Regions from separate parts of the Homo sapiens genome. Here region 2 is linked to region 1. Evidence: promoter capture Hi-C in human tissues and cell types (Jung and others, 2019). All regions are on one chromosome and are shown on one strand. Each heading gives the region's core, a stretch centred on a gene start or on the middle of the fragment in contact. The rest is flanking DNA. Distances are from core to core; before and after follow the strand shown.

The links. The method cuts DNA at HindIII sites, captures the fragments that hold promoters and counts their contacts. A contact is called where the count stands out against the background at its distance.
Region 2: a contact is called between a fragment that was not itself captured here and the fragment with the promoter of AGO4 in region 1, in 1 of the 25 tissues and cell types used here (heart right ventricle).

Annotation. Positions count from the first base shown.
Region 1 is chr1:35,804,304-35,810,418 of GRCh38, reverse strand. AGO4 (argonaute RISC component 4) reads right to left here and starts at 2,403. Exons shown (of 18, transcript NM_017629.4): 1 at 1,984-2,403. The coding sequence starts at 2,002. CLSPN-DT (CLSPN divergent transcript) reads right to left here. Exons shown (of 3, transcript NR_199050.1): 3 at 3,479-3,674. RefSeq lists enhancers at 1,351-1,630, 2,730-3,229, 5,647-5,696 and silencers at 1,781-2,030, 2,311-2,520. The HindIII fragment of the contact is 21,017 bases long and covers 1-6,115 here.
Region 2 is chr1:35,446,405-35,452,519 of GRCh38, reverse strand. It overlaps KIAA0319L (KIAA0319 like), which reads left to right. Exons shown (of 21, transcript NM_024874.5): 13 at 744-892; 14 at 2,011-2,162; 15 at 2,515-2,653; 16 at 4,188-4,347. Among named protein-coding and RNA genes, the nearest start is that of ZMYM4-AS1, 83 kb to the right of the region's middle. RefSeq lists a silencer at 1,241-1,420. The HindIII fragment of the contact is 6,659 bases long and covers 306-6,115 here.

The DNA of each region.
Region 1 (6,115 bases), core at 1,154-3,653:
GCTTCAGGGACTGTTCAAGTGAGGAGGGCACAAAGCACTAGATCCAGGTGTGCTCTGCCAAAGAAGCAGGGATGATTCTCTAGGTTCTAAAACAGCCTGGATGAATCATCCCACAAGACGATCAACTCCCTTTGCTCTGATTCTATGCTTAGCAGGCAGCTACTTATTAGTTGGGTTTCCAAGGTACTGCAACACCAAAAAAGGAGTTTGCTAGAGAGCAGACAGGAAAATATTCCACTCAACAGAAAAGATCCATGTGACATTTTGGCTTATTCATTAGTGTCTTATAAATGTGGTTAGTGAGAATTAATTTTCCACAATCTGAACAATCCTGAGTGAACCACTAAGTCCTCAAACCTGCAAAAGCTAAAATCAAAACAAAAAAAAAAAAGAGTCCCTGGGCAGTGCCTAATATCACCAGGTTGATCCTTTCCATGAAATTCAGTTTATGCCCACAGTTACACAATTTCTTTCGATATCAGATCATAAATGCAACAGTTGTTTCAATTATGAATTACTAGGGGGAGGGAAGAAACATCTGTTGAGCATCTATAGGCACTAGTCTCTACAATAAGACTTATCATATACTCTCATTTCATTCTCTCAACAATCTTACAGAACATACTTATTATTACCCTCAATTTATAGACGAGAAAATGAAAGTTCAAAGGAATTGAGTAATTTTCCCAGGGTCATACAACTATTACATTACTAGATTGAATCTGTTACATTCCTAAAGACCTGAGCATGTCTTTAGCCAGGGGACATATCTGAAGTTAACCTGGCATAATACACTGAAGTTTATCAAACAATATTAATGCGGCAAGCCAATTTATTTTTAAAAGGCATATGAAATTTGATTATGAGGGCCTTTAAACAATACTTTAAGAAGCAAATTAGGGTGGGGCTTAATCACTCAGCTATGCAAACAAGTGCTAAGTAAACAAACGTGCCAAGTTTCCAAACTCAAATGGCAACTCGAATTTTCTACGCACTAAAAAGATGAAACACTCTACGACTAAGTTCATTATGTAGGTAAAGTTTGAATATTAAAGTGAATTCCACCACAGCCCCTAAACACTGAGCTACTTAGCCAAGGCATTAGAAACCTGTTGGGCTTTGAGGTGGAAGCACCAGGCCCCAATACTCAGGACACTTGTTACAGCCTGGAATGGTTCTTCTGGTTTGGATAGAGAGAAATAACCAGAGGCCATCCATATCCACAACAAATTAGTTTCCAAAGCACTTTCTCCTTCATTTGATCCTCACAACCACTCATAACCCAATTAGAAGAGAACTCAGGGCATTGAAGCCTGTGGTGGAGCAGACTGACTGGCAACTCCTGTGTCACTCAAAGGCTGGCTCAGACCACTCTGAGACTAACACACAGACTGAGTGACAGAGGCACAGGACCATGTTCTTTGGGACATCAGGGCCTTTCAGAAAGGGTGGGCATTTTGTCCCTTGACCTTCAGAGATCATGAGAGGTGTTTGGATGAAGTTCTTCTTCCTCATCTGAAGGCTCTGGACCATCTGCCAGTGCAAAGAAAAATAGGGGCGCGGCCCCAAACCAGGACTACCGGCTGGTAGTAGGCAGCGGGGCCCTTTTCCCGGTCTGGGCCAGGCCTCCGCGCGCACTGGGTAGCGGATCGCCCCCTTCTGAGGCCCAAACTACCCTCGTCGCGACCCCGGGCACATATCGTCTCCCCGAGGTGGGGCCAAGAGTGGCCTCCGCCCGGCAGCGCCGGTCACCTTCCCGAACCTCCCCCCTGGACCTCGGGATCCACCCAACGGCCGGCTGGGGCGCGGTCACCGCCCCCCAGGCCCGGGTCAGCTCCCTCCGCTTCGTGCTGCGGGGCTCGGGTCCCCTTCCCCGAGGCCTGGCGGCCCGAACCCGGCGAGGCGACGGGGCAGCGAAAGTCCCGGCCGCCCGCCCCGGGTCCCGGGTCCCGGGTCCCGCCCCGACCCGAGCTCGCTCCTCACCGGGTCCCAGCGCCTCCATGGCGGCGGCGGGGGCCGCCTCGCCCCGGTCCCCGGCGCCTCCCGCTCCGGGCCCCGCCGCCGCCGCCGCCGCCGCCGCGTAACGCTTGATCTCCGGAATATTGGCGCTGGGGTGGCGCCGCGGAGACGCGGGCGCTGGGCAGGGGGCGGCGGCGGCGCCCGGCCCGGGGACAGGGACCCGGCTCCGGCTCTTCCGGCCTCAGCGACAACAAAAACAATCCCCGCCGCCGCCGCCGCCGCCGCCGCCAACGGGAGCGGGAGCGGGAGCCAGCGCGCGCGCCCGCCGGGAGGGAAGGGGGCGCGGGGTGCGCGGACCCAGGGTCCCGGCGGGCGGAGGGGGCGTGCGCGGCCCCGGGCGCGGGGTCCACAGAGCCCGGCAGGCGGCGAGGCGGGTCGGGGAACGAGCGCGCGCCCGGAGGGTGCAGAGCCCGGTGGACGTGTCGGGCACGCGCCCGCTGGCCCGCTCTGCCCCGTCCACCCGAGGAGGCCGTCCGGTGGCCAACGGCTCTGGGGGCTACGTGCCATCCCCCCAGGGCGTCCTGCAAAAGATCTGGATTCCAGTTCCGCTGACCCACAGATTCAGTTTTCCACTTCTGTGAGTGGAAAGTGTACTGAGATTCACAGGAGCCACCTCGCCTCCCTCCTCCCTCCTCCCACCCCAGATCGCTTCTGTCATCTCGTCTTTTAGGGTCACCTTAGACGCTAGCAGTCCTCCTTCATCCCTTCATTCAGCACCACACACCCAACTGCGCGTCCCTCTCCGTATAGCCGGAAGGCACCACGGGAATGGACCCTGATGAATGATGCATTCCCTCCCTGGTCCCATGACAAGCGCCTCTGGTCAGCAAATCACCAGTCACTTTAGAAGAGAAAGGTCTTGGCCGGGCGTGGTGGCTCACGCCTGTAATACCAGCACTTTGGGAGGCGGAGGCGGGTGGATCACCTGGGGTCAGGAGTTTGAGACCATCCTGGCCAACATGGCGGAAGCCCATCTCTACTAAAAACACAAAAAATTAGCCGGGCGTGGAGGCAGGCGCCTGTAATCCCAGCTACTTGGGAGGCTGAGGCAGGAGAATCGCTTGAACCCGGGAGGCAGAGGTTTCAGTGAGCCGAAATCGGGCCACTGCACTCCAGCCTGGGCGACAGAGCAAGACTGTCTGAAAAAAAAAAAATAAAAATAAAAGAGAGAGAGAGAGAGAAAGGTCTTGCTTTCTTGGATGCCTTCCCCTTAGCAGACAAAAGCCAAGGGAGCAGCACCACCTCCAAGGCAGCATGGTCAGCCCAGCAGGCACAGCATCTTTAGGGCTTTCAGTAAGGACTTTGAGTGGGAGAACACTGGACAACAGGCCAAGAAGCAGTTTCTAGTCAGCAGAAGGAAGGAGCCCCTTGTCCACCAATTGAAAAGGTACGATGAGTTTGTGTGTGTGTGTTGTATTCCTTTGCTACGGCATAACGTAACAAAGTACCACAGACTGGGTGGCTTAAACAACAGAAATTTATTTTCTCACAATTCTGGAGGCTGGCAGTCAGAGATACGATGTAGGCAGGGTTGGTTCCTTCTGAGGCCTATCTCCTTCACTTGGTAGATAGTGGCCTTCTCCCAGTGACTTCACGTGGTCTTCCCTCTGTGCACGTCTGTGTCCAAATTTCCTCTTCTTATAAGGACAGCAGTCCTATTAGAGTAGGGCTCACTCTAGTGACCTCGTTTTAATTTAATTACCTCTTCAGAGACCCTGTTTCCAATTACAGTCACATCCTGGGGTGCTAGAGTTAGGACTTCAATATACAAATTATTGGGGTGGGGGATAATTTAGGCCCCTAGCATGTGTGGTGGGATATTCATTTGAGCACCTGCCATGTGCTGTCACAGAGCCAGGTAGTTTTTTTATGTAATGATAAAAAATATTAGCATCACATCCTGGCCATGCACTCTGCTATGGGCTTCTCATTGTCACTCAATCTTTACAACCACCAGTAAGGTAGATATTGTTAAGAAAGGTATTTGTACAGATGATGACACCGAAGCTCAGGGAAGTTAAGTAAGTCGGGCTTTGCATTACATGATGCTGAAGTGAAGCATGGGAAAAATTGGAGTTCAAATCTTGCATTTAAGTCCTGGCTAATTCTCTCCCTGATTGGCTATGGAACTAGGACTTTTATTTTTTTATTTTTTATTTTTTGAGACGGAGTCTCGCTCTGTCGCCCAGGCTGGAGTGCAGTGGCGCCATCTCGGCTCACTGCAAGCTCCGCCTCCCGGGTTCACGCCATTCTCCTGCCTCAGCCTCCCAAGTAGCTGGGACTACAGGCGCCCGCTACCACGCCCGGCTAAATTTTTTTTTGTATTTTTAGTAGAGACGGGGTTTCACCGTGTTAGCCAAAATGGTCTCGATCTCCTGACCTTGTGATCCGCCCGCCTCAGCCTCCCAAAGTGCTGGGATTACGAGCTTGAGCCACCGCGCCCGGCCGGAACTGGGACTTTTAATCTAGTGCCTACATTCTTGTCTACTGATACCATACCCTATATTCTTTTATTTTTTTTGACCCGGAGTCTCGCTCTGTCGCCCAGGCTTGGGTGCAGCAGCGCGATCTCGGCTCACTGCAAGCTCCGCCTCCCGGGTTCACATCATTTTCCTGCCTCAGCCTTCCGAGTAGCTGGGACTACAGGTGCCCGCCACCACGCCCGGCTAATTTTTTGTATTTGTAGTAGAGACGGGGTTTCACCATATTAGCCAGGATGGTCTCGATCTCCTGACCTCGTGATCCGCCCGCCTCGGCCTTCCAAACTGCTGGGATTACAGGCGTGAGCCACCATGCCCGGCCACCATACTCTATATTCTTTTCACAGCATCATGCTACCTCTCTGTTAAACCAGATAGTAACTGGAAATAGTAATAGGGGACAGAATGTTCAAAGGGGAGAAAGTATTTACTAAACGATCAGACTGCTGCACAGCTAAGAAAAGAAAAACCAACTAGAGTTGGCCGGGCGCGGTGGCTCACGCCTGTAATCCCAGCACTTTGGGAGGCCGAGGCAGGCGGATCATGAGGTCAGGAGATCGAGACCATCCTGTCTAACACAGTGAAACCCCGTCTCTACTACAAATACAAAAAATTAGCCGGGTGTGGTGGCGGGCGCCTGTAGTCCCAGCTACTCTGGAGACTGAGGCGGGAGAATGGCGTGAACCTGGGAGGCGGAGCTTGCAGTGAGCTGAGATCAGGCCACTGCACTCCAGCCTGGGCGACAGAGCGAGACTCCGTCTCAAAAAAAAAAAGAAAAAAAAAAGAAAAACCAACTAAAGTTCAAGTTTTTCACTTCACGCTAAGTTCCACCTACAGTTTAAACAATGCCGGTGTCTCCAATAGCCTGGTTTGTGGCTGACTCTCCCAACCCCACTTCCTAACAAAATTTCTCTATATTCTATTTGCTACCCTGAGCAGAGACCACAGCTTGTTCCCTGGACTGAAAATAGTTTTTCCACTAGCTTTAGAGGCTGAAGTATGAAATTTATTCACCCCATAGTTCCAGTTGGGACCGAAATGTCTCACTCAACAGAGTGATTCTTGATTACTCTGATCATCTACCTTCTCATTTCAAAACTCACTCTCACTCAAACACCCACTGTTCCTTTTCCAAAAACTATTCCTACAGAACCCTCCCAAACCAAATTTCTGTAGTCAATAAACTCCTCTAAACCTTGGCCTGCTCAGCAAGCCCTCCCTCCACTTCCTGCTGTGGCTGAGAAGCCATGACCCAGAATGTCACTTCCCCTGCAGCTCTCTCTGATGGTGGTTGCTCATTCTTCCACATCGCACATGCCTCCAGGACAGGGTAGGGCATGAGTAAAGAATTGACAACATATTTGCCCCATCATACGAAACTTTGAATTCTTATTTTCATATTAAAACCATTTGCCGGTCGGGCGCAGTGGCTCACGCCTGTAATCCCAGCACTTTGGGAGGCCGAGGCAGGCGGATCACGAGGTCAGGAGATCAAGACCATCCTGGCTAACACGGTGAAACCCCCTCTACTAAAAATACAAAAAAATTAGCCAGGCGTGGTAACACGCGCCTGTAGTCCCAGCTACTTGGGAGGCTGAAGCAGGATAATCGCTTGA
Region 2 (6,115 bases), core at 2,386-4,885, 360 kb after region 1:
AAACAAAGTAAATCCTGGATGTCTGCAGATTTCTCTGGCTTTCCTGTAGTTAAAAGCTCTGGGGCATTTTGATCCTTGAGCAGAGGGCTCTCTGGCTGTGTGCAGCCTGAATGTTGGCACAGAGCTCCCTTGGCTGCTGCAGGCAAGTCTCTGAGGCCACAAGGGGGAAGAAGGGTTGTAGGGTGTCCTAGGTGCTTGATGGCCCCTGTCCAGGAGCTGGAGGGAACTTTGCTTATAGAGTTGCTACAAACAAGATGATTTTGTCCTGAGAGTTCCTCTGCAGTCTTGCCCCATTTCCTTTTCTTTCATCAGGAAGGATTTGGGCACGTGATTAAGAAATGCATTTTGCTTCCTTGCTGGCAAGAGCCAAACCAACTACTGGGCCAGAAATGCTTTTTAGAAACATCACTCTTAAATCATTCTTTTGATCAGAGACTTGCTCAGAGAACTTTCTTCCTTTTACAAACTAGAATGGTAAAGCGTTCAAGTGTTCTAGAAGCTCATATAAAGGATAAGGCTAGAGGTGTTTGAAAGCTATTTGAATTTTCTGACCAGCAGGCAGCCTGTATTTTGAGGCCAAATGACACTTTGTCCAATTGAAATATTTTTAAACATGTCTTGTCAAGGTCTGGGTAACAGTAGTTCGTGTCTTTGCTGAGGGAGTCATTGTCTCCTCCTGCTAAGTTAGGGACAGGACAGCAGCAGACAGGTACAACTCTACCCTCTAGTTTCTTTTTTTGCAGGGGACCTGATGGGGTGCAGCTCGAGAATGCTAACAGCAGTGTTGCTACTGTGACTGGGCTGCAAGTGGGGACCTATGTGTTCACCTTGACTGTCAAAGATGAGAGGAACCTGCAAAGCCAGAGCTCTGTGAATGTCATTGTCAAAGAAGGTACCTCTCTGCCTCCAGTTTGTGTAGCAGCCTCTTAGGGTCAGATAGCTGAAGAATTTATCCTGTCATGTTTGCCTGCAGAAATTGATTAGAGATAGCAAGAGGTGGGTAAGAGGGTTGGGGTGAGGGCAATTGTTATTTTCTTTTCTAAAACAGCCTTTAATTGGACTGTAAGGTGAATTTTAACTTCCCTCCCTCCTCCTGCTTACATCTTCCCTTCCCTCTCATCCCCTTACTTTCTTTTCAGTCCTCCCTCCTTCCCTCCTTACTTTATTTCTCAGTTGAATAGGGAAAGAATTAAGGGTTCTATTCTTTGCATTTTTATTTTGCCCCTCTGCATTGCTGAGACCTGGGCCGTGACTCCTGTTAGCTACAGTGACACCTGCTGTCAGGCTTGAGAATGACGGCCGCACTACAGCTGACTATGCTTGCCCTGAGCCTTTGAGCTGAGGCCAGCCAGAGGCCTTGCTCTAGTTTACAGGCACAGTGACCAGTGAGAGCTGTGGGAGAGGGCCTTAAGTTGAGGGCCTTAAGTTGATAGCAGGAAAAACCATCAGATATGCAGACCTCCAGACATAAGATACCAAGCTGAGTAAATACTGCACAGACATCTGAATATACAGAGCTTCACGTGGGGCTCCGAATAAGAGAGGTAGCTCTTTGTTTTCTCTTGTGAAGTTCCAAGGAAGGGGTCCAAAAAGATATTCAGAGAATAACATTTTAAGATATTTTGAAGGAGAATTTGCAAGATCAGCTAGGTGAAACCTAAACTCCAAGGTTTTAAGCCAGTTTGGGCCGTTATTTCTGATCATCACATACCTCCAAAGCAGAGAAATGGATTCCATTTGGGAAGGCTGCTGGGAGAATATGAGAGGAAAGCACACTCGTCCCCTCTGTTGTACAGTGTTAGGAGAACATTTCTCTGGGTAGGACTGGAACCTCAGGACTGCAGCGCTGGTAGCTTTCATCTACACTGTTGGTTGGTGGCAGGGACAGGCACTTAAAAAGGTTCTCCAGTTAAGGTACTCTTGATGTTTTAATTTCCCCATAAGCATCATGAAGAAACATTTCTTCTTTTCCAGAATGTCACATTATGTCAATGATTTCTTTTTGATTAGAAATAAACAAACCACCTATAGCCAAGATAACTGGGAATGTGGTGATTACCCTACCCACGAGCACAGCAGAGCTGGATGGCTCTAAGTCCTCAGATGACAAGGGAATAGTCAGCTACCTCTGGACTCGAGATGAGGGGAGCCCAGCAGCAGGGGTAAGTGTGCTAGGAGCTGGAGAGCTACACAGGAGTGGGGAGGAGGAGGAGCCACGCGTTCCAGTATATGCTTTAATCAAGTGGTCCCTTATATCAAACCCAGATTGTTCTCTGAAATCCAGGGAGGTGAAGTGACTTGCTTAGGGTCATTCTGTAAGCTAGTATAGCACAGAATGGGTTTCCCTTCCCTGATCCTAGCAGTTGTAGGCTGCAATGCTGTTCCGTATCAGGAACTGCCCAAGGTTGAAACAGTTCAGCCCTGAAGGGCCTAGTTATGGTGAAAGCAGCAACTGACTCCAGGAAAGGAATGGCATTTTGTTCTGTAACATAGCCATGTTGTTCAACCCTACAGGAGGTGTTAAATCACTCTGACCATCACCCTATCCTTTTTCTTTCAAACCTGGTTGAGGGAACCTACACTTTTCACCTGAAAGTGACCGATGCAAAGGGTGAGAGTGACACAGACCGGACCACTGTGGAGGTGAAACCTGGTGAGTTCATTTAGTGATGAGGCTGAGTAGAATTGCTGAATCAGCCAATCAAGGCCTCTATCCTGAGATCCCCTTCCCCGAGCATGGACAGAGCCAGATGGCATGTCCAGCTTTAAAAATAATCGAGAAACCCCAAGCTGAAAAATCCATAGAGACCGTCTGTTCCAATAATACCTCCTACCCATGCAGAAATACAGACCTCCCCCTATTCATCTCAGATGGAGAAACAAACTCAGAGAGGGCAGGACTTGCTCAGTGTCACACAGCAGTTGTGTCAGAGCCAGGCCTTTGTGCTCGTAGTCCAGCACTTTCTCCTCTCCTCGTGACTGATGAGAGAGGGCTCAGAGTGCTTGGGAATCTGAGCATGGGAATAGCTTGAGTCATGATGTCTCATCAGCATCCAGATGCAGAAAACAATTTATTTTTATAAGTTGAGCCTCAGGCCTTGTCTGATAATCCAGGGAAGGTAAAGTAATAGTGCTCTTTACATTTTTCAGCTTTGCAGAAATAAAAATTTTCTTCTTAAATAGAACCATGTTTTTATTTTGCTTTGAGATTAATATGGTGATAGGGAGGCACTGAGTATGGAGGTGGGATAGAGCTGTATAAATTCCTGAGCTTCTGATGAAATGGTATTAACTTTAAACCTACTCTTTATTATCTAGGCCAACCTCATATATGGATGTTTTGGACAGGAAGGGATCTTGGGAGGTCTTCCAGTCCTTGTCCTGCCTCTAGGAAGGACAGTAGCTGAGACACTATAAAATCTCTTTGGTGTTTAAAGTCAGATCACAGATAGTCTACTAATTATGCAAATTATACATCAGAACAGGCAAGTGGTGCATTCAAGTATGTAAATAAGGCATTCCAAACAATCAGTTTGAAATTCCAAATGTAGAACATCTTTAGGACATATTCAAAAGTAAAACATGATAGCCTCACCGTTTTAGAGTTATACAAAGATAGTGCAGCTGTGATGTGGCTCTAAGGAAATCCTTGTGTCTTGGCTGACTGGATTTTCTTTTGTTAACTGTATTTAAACCTGGAGGGACGGATGCATTCCCATTATTGAGGAGGTTGTTGAGATGGACACTTTTCCTCCCATTGTTGTGCACAAAATACAGCGAGGCACTGAAAATCAGATGTGAGTCAGGAGAGATTGCTTAATAACCCCCACTTGGCCTGGATTGCTCAGCACTGCCAGTTGCACAGAGGCTTTTAAAACAAATGTTTAAGTGTTTCTCTCTTCCCCACTCCCGTCATTACTCCCCACCCCTCATTGCATCACTGCTTCAGCCTTATCCCCAGCACATGTGTGGGAATTCTCAGGTTGGTATAGAGAGCAGGAGTGCTTTAGAAGCTTTCTAAGCCAGCCCCAGATTGCCCGATCAGGAATTCACTATTGTCCCTTTCCATTTGAAGGATATCTGAATGTTCTCACTCCTTTCTCTCCTGTGCCAAAGCAAATGCACAGTGGCAGGTCTGTGTTTACTCTCCTACTTCTAAAGCCATGACTGATCCACATGCTTTCCAGATCCCAGGAAAAACAACCTGGTGGAGATCATCTTGGATATCAACGTCAGTCAGCTAACTGAGAGGCTGAAGGGGATGTTCATCCGCCAGATTGGGGTCCTCCTGGGGGTGCTGGATTCCGACATCATTGTGCAAAAGATTCAGCCGTACACGGAGCAGAGGTAGCTGGGCAATGAATGGGGGGAGCAAAGGAAAGACCAGGGGCCCCCGGGCTTCTTGAATGAGCTGAGAAATAGTGTGGTTAGATAGAGAAAGGTGGGCTTTCTGACCAGAAACACTCATGTTGCCTTTTCTTCAATAGACTTCTGTCTTCTAGTGCAGGTGACATGCGCTGTACTAGACACTTCAGCAGGGCTCCAGGGTGTAGGAGGTCAACTATTTTGACAACCACAGTCTAGTAGAGGAGATAAGTAAATATGGAACATTAGTACGGTGTGGGTTTGGTACAACAAGCGGCATTGTGGAACACTGTGGCAAGGACAATGAATTCTTCTAGGAGAGTTGGGGTAGGAGTAATCCAAAGATTTTTCTAGAATAAAGAAAACTTCAACCTGGGCAACATAACAAGACCCCACCTCTACAGAAGATTTAAAAATTAGCCAGGTGCAGTGTGGTTCGCCTGTAGTCCAAGCTATTTGGGAAGCTGAGGCAGGAGAATTACTTGAGCCCAGGGGTTTGAGGCTGCAGTGAGCTCTGATCACACCACTGCACTCCAGCCTGGAAGACAGAGTGAGACTGTCTCAAGAAAAAAAAAAAAAAGAAAAAAAAAGGGGAAAAGGAAACTTATATTGACCAGGCATGGGAGGATGGGGAGGAAATTCAGAACAGGGCAACAGCATTGAGCAATGGCCCTGTGGTATGAAAGTACACAGTTTCTTCCAGAAGAAGTCACTTGGTTCAAGCTTAGTGGCCCCAGGATGTGGTAGAAGACAAGACTGGCAGTGGAGATTGAGAACAGTTATATGCAAGCTGAGGATCTTAGTTTTAATAGTTTGGGTAGGCAGATCCAAGTTGGTTTGTTTTATGTGTGTGAAGTTTTTGTTTTGTTTTTAAAAGCAAGGAATTTCCATAATTTGATTTTTTTTTTTTTTTTTTTAAAGAAAGATCAGTAGTGTGGAAGCTAGTCTAAAATAGGGAGAGACCAAAGGCTGGGAGACCATTCAGGAAGCTTCTGGACTAGTCCAGTGAAAAGGTAATAAAACCTGAATTAAGATAGTGGAAGAAGAGGAGAAGAAATTAAAAGAAATTCAGTGGTAATTCAGTAGTACCTGGCCCTTTACGAATGAAGGTGAGTGAGATAGCAAATGTGAGGCTTTTGGTTTGGATGTCTGGATAGATGGTTCAGGTCATTAACTGAGATTGGGAAGGCAGGCGAAACCAGTATGGATGATTGAATTTGGGGTGTCTTACTGGCTGCGTCAGGAGATGTTCCGTCAGATAGCCACAAGTAAAGGCTGGAACTTGTGGAAGGAAGAGCCCGAGATAGGAGTTACTGCATACAGGCAGGAGCCAAAGCCATGAGAACGGGTGAGTCTCACTAGGAGAGAGCTAAGATGGATAAGGACACAACTCTGAAGGGCATCATTATTTAAGGAGGAGGCAGAGAAAGAAGAGGTAGCAAAAGAAACTAAGAAACAGCAATCAGGTGGGAGGAAAACCAAATGAGAGTAGTCTGCTGGAAGTTAAGGGGTGATCTGGCAAAAGGGGTGCTTCCAAAGGATTCAGATGCTACAGGGATGGAGGTGTGGTGAGAACACAAAGTAGGCCTATGGGTTTGTGATTAGTAGATCAGTGCAACTATAGTGAGAGCATTTTACTTAGATGTTGGAGGCAGAGGACAGATTTCATGGTTTGAGGATACAGAGATGGTCAGTATAACACCTTTTTGAGGAAGTTGGTGCTGAAAATAATATGGGAGGTAGGATTGAA